2 separate regions of the Homo sapiens genome follow, and region 2 is linked to region 1. Evidence: promoter capture Hi-C in 16 types of primary human blood cells and fetal thymus (Javierre and others, 2016). All regions are on one chromosome and are shown on one strand. Each heading gives the region's core, a stretch centred on a gene start or on the middle of the fragment in contact. The rest is flanking DNA. Distances are from core to core; before and after follow the strand shown. Region 1 holds the start of NADK2 (NAD kinase 2, mitochondrial). Region 2 overlaps DNAJC21 (DnaJ heat shock protein family (Hsp40) member C21).

What was found. The method cuts DNA at HindIII sites, captures the fragments that hold promoters and counts their contacts. A CHiCAGO score of 5 or more calls a contact.
Region 2: a contact is called between a fragment that was not itself captured here and the fragment with the promoter of NADK2 in region 1, in 3 of 17 cell types (non-activated CD4 T cells, activated CD4 T cells and naive CD8 T cells). The highest score is 6.9, in non-activated CD4 T cells.

Annotation. Positions count from the first base shown.
Region 1 is chr5:36,239,784-36,244,051 of GRCh38, reverse strand. It overlaps NADK2 (NAD kinase 2, mitochondrial), which reads left to right and starts at 2,127. Exons shown (of 12, transcript NM_001085411.3): 1 at 2,127-2,553. The coding sequence starts at 2,254. LOC124900962 (a long non-coding RNA gene) reads right to left here and starts at 2,150. Exons shown (of 3, transcript XR_007058733.1): 1 at 2,024-2,150. RefSeq lists enhancers at 1,603-1,802, 3,153-3,222 and a silencer at 2,043-3,062. The HindIII fragment of the contact is 2,649 bases long and covers 1,425-4,073 here.
Region 2 is chr5:34,936,223-34,940,275 of GRCh38, reverse strand. DNAJC21 (DnaJ heat shock protein family (Hsp40) member C21) reads right to left here. Exons shown (of 12, transcript NM_001012339.3): 4 at 4,010-4,053; 5 at 2,646-2,950; 6 at 1,267-1,418. Among named protein-coding and RNA genes, the nearest start is that of DNAJC21, 8.7 kb to the right of the region's middle. The HindIII fragment of the contact is 5,867 bases long and covers 1-4,053 here.

The DNA.
Region 1 (4,268 bases), core at 878-3,377:
TGTTAGGGACTGGTATGTTGGGAGACAGTAAAAGATTTCAAGAAGAAATGATAACCATTTCAAATTCTTTGGAAAGATCAATCAATTAAAGAACTGAAAAAAGTCTTTTGAGTTCCAACAAGATCTTTTGGTCACCTTGGAAACAGCAGTAATTAGCAAAGTAGTGGGGAGAAGCTAGTGTACAACAGGTTGAGGAATGACTAGGAGGCAGGGATGTGGCAATGATGAACAGACTACTCTTTCGAGAATCAGCTGTAAAGGTAAGGCAGGCAATATGTAAAAACAAAGGCTTAGAGGTTGTTTTGTTTTTTTAGAAAAATTTTAAAGATGTCATAGACATGAGCATATTTAAATACTGAAGAGGCAAACTCATTTGGGAGGGAAAATTCAAGATACCTGTGAGAGGATGCCTTCAGAAACACTATTTTTGAGGAGGTGGAAGATGAGACGCAAAATAACTATGGACAAAGGGCTATTCCAACTGAGATGTCAATGTATATGTTTGCAGCTGAAATGAGAGTCAAAAATCTGGGTTTTTATCTGTGAAATGGGAAGAAATGAGGTCCGAGATTTCAAATATGAGCAACAAAACTCAGACTTTGATCCCAAACAGTTTCTCCCTACGCATTTTTTTTTCTCTATCGAATGGATCAATTAACATTCCCCTGTTCACCCTGGCCTCAAACCTAAGCGTCATCTGTGATTTCTCCCTTTTTTTTTTCCTTCCTAATGCTAATGAAGTTTAAAATAGTAAGACTACAAAGGAGTCTGAGGATAGTTATAGATGTTACCTCTAGAAGCTCAGGTTATTAAGGTTGTTACACTACACGTCACTATTAGCAGCTGCTGTGAGGGAAAGTTCTTGGTGAGAACGGGTCAGTGGTAGAACTTTACCAAGTAAACACCTATCGGGCTTCATTGTGTATGCTCCCAGTCCAATACACTACCTGGCACACAGCAGGCACACCGCGGGAACCCACGAATGAACGCTGGTGCTGGTGGGCCCGTGAGGAGAGTCATAGATTCACTGAATCGATTTGGACTTGGTAGAACCTTGGGGTCACCCTAACCCCCTTTTTACAGATGAGGAATCTGAGGCCCAGAAAGATGAGGTAACCTGCCCAAAGTCCAGAAGCGACGTAGCGCCAGGACTACAAAGGAGCAAACACAGTGCCAGGGGAAGGGGATCTAAGGAGCTGCGGAATTGAACAGCAGGATGTGCACTGCCATGTGGTTCTCCCCTTACAATGGGACGTTTCCTTCTGTTCTCGTCACACCCCAGCCCAGGTCCTGATCACTCCACGGGTCATTATCCCAACAGCATCCCTTCCTCCTCTTCTTGCCTCCCAAGCTACCCAAGATTCCAAAGCCAGATCAATAGTCATCAAACATTGCTTTAACTCACTCCTTTCCAGTTAAAAGCTTTCAAAGAACTAATTCATTTGGACTTTGTCCTATAGGTAGGGCTCTTCGGGGGGGCAGGGGGCAGCGGGGCGGGCACTGGGTCCCACGCCGAGAGGATTTCGTGCCAAGCCACGCACACGGTGCAGCAGGAGCCGGGTCCGCCTCCTCAGCCCCCAGCCCGGCCCCAGACACACCAGCTATCACACCGACCCTGGTCAAATAAACCAATGGGCACGTGGTCGGCCTGCAGAACAGAACCCAAGCGAGCATATGCCAGGAACCTGCCTTCCCGCCAGCCGCTCAAAACCCCACCCGCTGGCCCCGCGCCGCCTCAGACCGGATCCAGCTGGATTCCTCAGGGCGACGCAATCGCCTAACAGAATTCTACCTCTTTCTCAGGCCGCAGCCAATGGCGCGGCCCCTCGGATCCGGAGCCGCCGCGGGCTCTGATTGGCCGATAGAGTTAGCCTGGGGGCGGGAGAAGAGCGACCTCGGGGAAGCGTGTGGTGCGGGGAGGTCGCCCCCGGGCGGCGAAGCAGCCATTATGCAGGCGTGAGTGAAACGAATAAACAAACAAACAAAACCCACTAGCTGGGGCCTCCATTTCTTCCCCGCCCACCTTTCTCCCGCGTGGGGTCTCCCGTTTCCCAATCGCCACGCTTTCCCCGCCTTCGTCAACGCCTGGGTACGTCCCCCTAGCCGCGTGGGCCACGCACGTCCTGGCACTTAACCTCTGCCCGTCCGGCGCGAAGTTAGAGGCCCGGGCGGCGCGGACGGCGCGCACTCCCGGCGGTAGGGAGCTGAGGCAAGGGGCCCGAGCCCAAGCCCGCGGCCGCGGCCCGGCCCACGATGACTTGCTACCGAGGCTTCTTGCTGGGCAGCTGTTGTCGCGTGGCGGGCGGCCGGGCGGCGGCGCTGCGGGGACCGGGTGCGGGAGGCCCCGCCGCGCGGCCCCGGCTGGGCGGTGACGGTGGCGGCCGGCGGCACCTGGGGCAGGGGCAGCCGCGCGAGCTGGCGGGCTGTGGCAGCCGCGCGGACGGCGGCTTCCGCCCCTCCCGGGTGGTGGTGGTGGCCAAAACCACCCGGTACGAGTTCGAGCAGCAGCGGTACCGTTACGCGGAGCTCTCGGAGGAGGACCTGAAGCAGCTGGTGGGTCCTGGCTCGGCCCCGCTTCGCTCCCGGGCTCGGCCGGGGCTCTGGTGGCGGCTGCGCCCCCTCGGGGGGACCTCTCGGGACGACTCTTCCCAGGGCACCGCAGATGCCGGTCCTGCCTCTCTCGCGGCCCCCAGGTCCTCTGGCTTCTCCCTGGGCCTCCTTTGCCTTTGGGCGTGTGTGCGAGGGAGAGGCAGGGCCGGGGAGAGGGGGAGAGAGAGGGACAGTGGTTCATGCAGGGACTTAGGAGGCAGGGGCGCCGCGGGGAGGGCGAAGAGGGGCTGCCGAGTGGCCTCAGAGTGAGGGGTTTGAGGATTCGTTGGTGCCCTCGCCGCCCCCGCCCTCGTTCCCTGGTTGGGACCCACTCCAAGAAAGTGAGCCAGTGGCCTGAGGTCTGGACGCCCTGCGAACAGCTCCCCTGGCCGCCGCGAGAAAGGGGGCCCAGGGCGCCGCTGAGGGCTGCCGGGGGAAAAGGGCCGAAACAACCGCGGACACACCCCCTTTTACTCTGCAGGACTGCGAGGCCTAGGGCACTCCGGAAAGTCCTTCAGCGTGAGCCTTTTCCTTGCTGGAACGTGGTCGTTGGACACTACGAGCTTGTTTTAAAAGCACAGGTCTTTGGTGCTAAGAAGGAAAAGGGAGAAAATTTGACTTGTATATGTACGTTATTAAGGAGAAATGTCAGGACAAGGGGCTGGTATACTGGGTAGTGTGTGAAATAAAAAAGCCTGCGACTCTTGTGCAGCAGTATCTCCACAATATACCATATTTGATATGTTTATTAATATATCTGCAAAGATACAAATCCAAGGGAAAAACCAGAGTTTGAATCTTCCTGTTGTCATCCCCCCCCACCAACTTTAAAAACAGTTTCTGATCCCATACCACCATCCACCAACTTTAGGAAAAGGAGAGTGCCCGGTGCTACCATGAGCAGTATGTCCAGAAAAATATATTGGAAATCTCTTAATTGTTGGCACTGTGCACCAAAAGGTTTTGGAATTAATTGCACATAACTGATTTAGTTTAATTCTGTGCAAGACTAGACAACCTGTTGGAAACTTCTGGTATCGTGTGATCTTAGCGAAGTTATTTTGTAGAGGCATCAAAATGAAATTGTAAATCATCTTTGCTTAAGTGCTGAATCTGTTGTCAACATTAAACATCCTGCTTCTTTGTTGGGTTTACTGAAGAGGGCTCCTGCATTCACCTGATGGGAGTCTAGATGTGTAGATTTGTTTTCTTTTTCCTAAGTGTTTGAAAATGACTGTTTATAGAATACACTTGCATCATTTAAAGAATAAAGGGTTTGAACAGGAGGTTAGAGTAGTTGAGTTTGTATTAGGGAGTGAAACTAGAGGTGAGATAGGGACTAGTAATGTTCTAAGAAAGCACAGTGTTACTATTTGGGGAAAGTGGTGTGCCCTTTGGGTTGTACTAATTTTGCAAAGTCTAGCTTGTAGGATTTGTCAAATGCCATGTATGCATAAATATGTGCATACAGTTTTATCGAAGCTTCCCACAACAATTTAAAATAGCTCACTTGGCATGTTCAGAGTGTGGGATTAAGAGTGAAGAGCTCAGTTCTAGGCCCTGGTTCTGTGTGGTTAACTTCCTATGTGTGTTCTTCTCTGGGCCTCATAGGTGGAAATGATACTTTTTGTATAGTAGTGTCAGTTTTCAAAGTGCTTCACCTAATTCAGTATGTGAAT
Region 2 (4,053 bases), core at 1,364-3,863, 1.3 Mb after region 1:
TCAATATATCATGTATGTGAAATTTTAATTAATCGAATAGTTAACAATACTGGATTTGAAGCAAAAACTCTGGATCTAAAAATGGTCATACATTCTCAGGCACATCTCATAGCTTCTCAGAGTCCTAGTTTCCACAACGGCAAAACAGAGACGATTCCATGAGCAAAACCTCCATGTAAGGGGGATTGTGTGACGATCCAGTGAGAGCTTGTACGTGAAAGGACTTTATAAATTGTAAAACTCGATGGAAATTAGGCCACCTCACATTTATAGAGTGATTTATAATTTTCAAAGTACTTTCAAAAGTATTACTTCTGATTCATTAATAAAACGCTTCACTTCCTAGTCATTTTGAATAAATAAAAGTTTATCATTTTATTATTTGGGCTACGAATCTGAAAAATCACATTTGTAGATAAGGTAAAACTGGGTCAATTTTATAGAGACAGTGGGGAAAATCAGATATACAGCTATTCTCAAAAATGCCTAATCCTTGCCTTTTAAGGTAGTCAAATACCTGTGCTCTAATGATAGCGGCAAAAAAAAAACAACATTTTGGCACACCAAGAGGAGCCCTTCTATAAAGTCACAAGGGAGAGGAAGAATTTATACACAACACATAGATTCTCATGCAATATCAGCTTTTCTAGAAATAGTTACTATTAAAACTTGACCTATCACTTAGTTGAATTTTCTTTAATAGTCACACTTGGCCGGGCGCGGTGGCTCACGCCTGTAATCCCAGCACTTTGGGAGGTCGAGGCGGGTGGATCACGAGGTCAGGAGATCGAGACCATCCTGGCTAACAAGGTGAAACCCCGTCTCTACTAAAAATACAAAAAATTAGCCGGGCGCGGTGGCGGGCGCCTGTAGTCCCAGCTACTCGGGAGGCTGAGGCAGGAGAATGGCGTGAACCCAGGAAGCGGAGCTTGCAGTGAGCCGAGATTGCGCCACTGCAGTCCGCAGTCCGGCCTGGGCGACAGAGCGAGACTCCGTCTCAAAAAAAAAAAAAAATAGTCACACTTGTAAACATGTCCATTTGTCATATTATGCAGCTAGAAGTACACACTGTTTAGGACATGGTCAGAAAAGAATTTGTTAATCAAATTACTTGAATTAGACTAGCTCAGCCGACTACCTTTGGCCCATACAACATTATTTTTAATTATTTGCCACATTTAAAAATTGGGAGATGTCAAATAAGCAAGGAGATTTCCAGCTTCACTTAAAAAACAAAAAAGATAAATAAAATAAAAATAATATTACCATCCTCCTCATCTTTGAGTTCATGTTCTTCCATTTCATTTTCATCCGATCCATCTCCAAACTCCTTCTCGTACCGTGCCTCCATCTCCTGGAGCTCTTTCTCCAAATTGGCCATAGTCATCCAGCTCTGTTCTCTGTACTGCTCCACCAGTCTAGACACATACAGCACAGTCTCACAGCGACAAGCACGCCTCTGCATGGTTTTCACTTACTACTTAGGTTTAAAATCCATTCCCACTAGAGAGCTTGCTCCCAACCTATCCACGCTTACAAACTTAAAACCTGTGCTTAGTTAAAACCAAGGCAAAGTCACTTAAACCTGTTACCTGTTGTATGGTTAATTTTAATTGCTCCAGTAGTAGATAACAGGTTTTGAAACATGAAACTCAGCAACTTATTAAAAGTCTTCAGATGATTTTAAGTCATGTAGGTAAAGTGTTAATTTTCAAAAGATGAGGGTGGGATGAGTAGAATTCTTAAGAAGTGAATAATTTTTAAAAGTATGCTATAATGCTCTGGACACAATGCATTTACAGTAACTTTTTAATAACAAAACTTTAGAGGAACTAAAATGAACTGAGTATCTCAGGGTACACTGACCAAAAGGCAGTACTGCACGGTGGCTAAAGCAGGAAAGTCTGGAGTCAGAATTCTCAGGTTCAATTCCTGACTCTACCATTTACTGGCTCTGTGATCTCAGGCCTGTCAGCCTTGTTTCCTCAGAAGAACAAGGAGGATAAGTACTTCACAGCATTGCTGTGAGGAAGGCACTTAGAACGTGGCCTTGCACAGAGGAAGAATTCAATTAACGCTAGTTATTAATTAAAATTATTAAGTTTTACAAAAGTCTAAAGGATCTCTCAAATGTAAAGGGTCTCTGAAGGAAAATATCCAATTCAAATAAAAATTTTAGGCCAGGCACTGTGGCTCATACCTGTAATTCCAGCACTTTGGGAGGCTGAGGCGGGCAGATCGCTTGAGGCCAAGAGTACGAGACCAGACTGGCCAACAGGGTGAAACCTCGTCACTACTAAAAATACAAAAATTAGCTGGGCATGGTGGCATATTACACCTGCAATCCCAGCTACTTGGGAGGCTGAGACAGGAGAATCACTTGAACCTGGAGGCGGAGGTTGCAGTGAGCCGAGATCGCACCATTGCACTCCAGCCTGGGTGACAGAATGACACTGTCCCAAAAATAATAATAATTTTTACACAGTAGATGAAAAAACACTATCCAATGCCACAATTTAAAAAAGAAGAAAAAGCAGGATAAAGCCAGGCTGATGACTGAACCCAACATGAACATGTAAGGTACCTCTGGTGCTGCCTCTGACCCCCACCGATACTGAGAAGAGGGCCCCACGCACGCTACGCACTTGGCCTGCTTTAGCTTCTGCTGCCGCCTCATCTCTTCGGCTTTCCTCGCCTTCTCTGCATTCTGTTCTTCCACAAGTTTTCGATGCGCCTGCACTCTTTTATCTCTTTTACGAATGAAAGCTACCAGCTGACGGACAAGCTCATTCTTCTCTTTCCTTGCTTTGTCCCGAATCTTTTTGTTTTCTTTTTCCATGGCTCGTTTTTCCCAGCGGTTTGAAGCCTGTCGTGTATCATATTCTTCCTTCCATGCAAAATTCTTTTGAGTGCAGAAACTCTGCCAATAAGCGTAGAAAGGATGGACTACCTAGTGACAAAGAAAACAGATTAACTTCTGCGCTTTAAGATTTTTTTTTAGAAAAGCAGTAAATATTACTGATGCGAAACATCTTTTACCTTTCTTTTTTCATGTATATAACACTTCTAATAATCTCTGGAGAAGACAGTACTTTTAAGGCTTTCCAGAAAAAATCACTCTTCAAAATAAACTTAATGAGAAAATAAAAATAGCCTTACTAATCACTAGATGGGACCATGGTGATTAGTAAATAATCAGTAAACAATTAGTAAATTAAAAGGGAAAAGTAGGCATGGTGGCTCACGCCTGTAATCCCAGCACTTTGGAAGGCTGAGGTGGGTGGATCACCTGAGGTCAGGAGTTTGAAACCAGCCTGGCCAACATGATGAAATCCTGTCTCTACTAAAAATACAAAAATTAGCTGAGCATGGTGGTGGGAGCCTGTAATCCCAGCTACCTGGGAGGCTGAGGCAGGAGAATCGCTTGAACCCGGGAGGCTGAGGTTGCAGTGAGCTGAGGTGGTGCCAATGCACTCCAGCCTGAGCAACAGAAGTGAAATGCCATCTCAAAAAAAATAAACAAATAAAATAAAAAATAAAAAGGGAAAAGTAAAGGGGGAAGGTTGCAAGAGATCGAAAAGCTACTTCAGAAAGGAAGAGAGACAAAGAGAGGTCATGGGATAGGTTCGAGAACTAGAACCAATTGTTTTAAAACAAGGAAATGAGAAGCTGGGAGCTGTGGCTCATGCCTGTAATCCCAATCTTTTGGGAGGCCAAGGAGGGAGGCCAGGAGTTCAAGATCAGCCTGGGAAACTTAGCAAGACCCCATCTCTACAAAACAATTGACAAATTAGCTAGATGTCGTGGCGCACACTTGTGTTCCCAGCTACTCAGGAGGCTGAGGTAGGAGGATTGCTTAAGCCCAGGAGTTTGAGGCTGCTGTGAGATATGATCATACCACTGCACTGCAGCCTGGGTGACAGAGTGAGACCATCTCAAAAAGTAAAATAAAATTTAAAAATGACACAGTGATAAATACTAATTATAGAACAATGCATTTTTATTTTACCGTATCATAGTCACTCTGGGAGTCTCCAAAAGTTGGGAAATCAT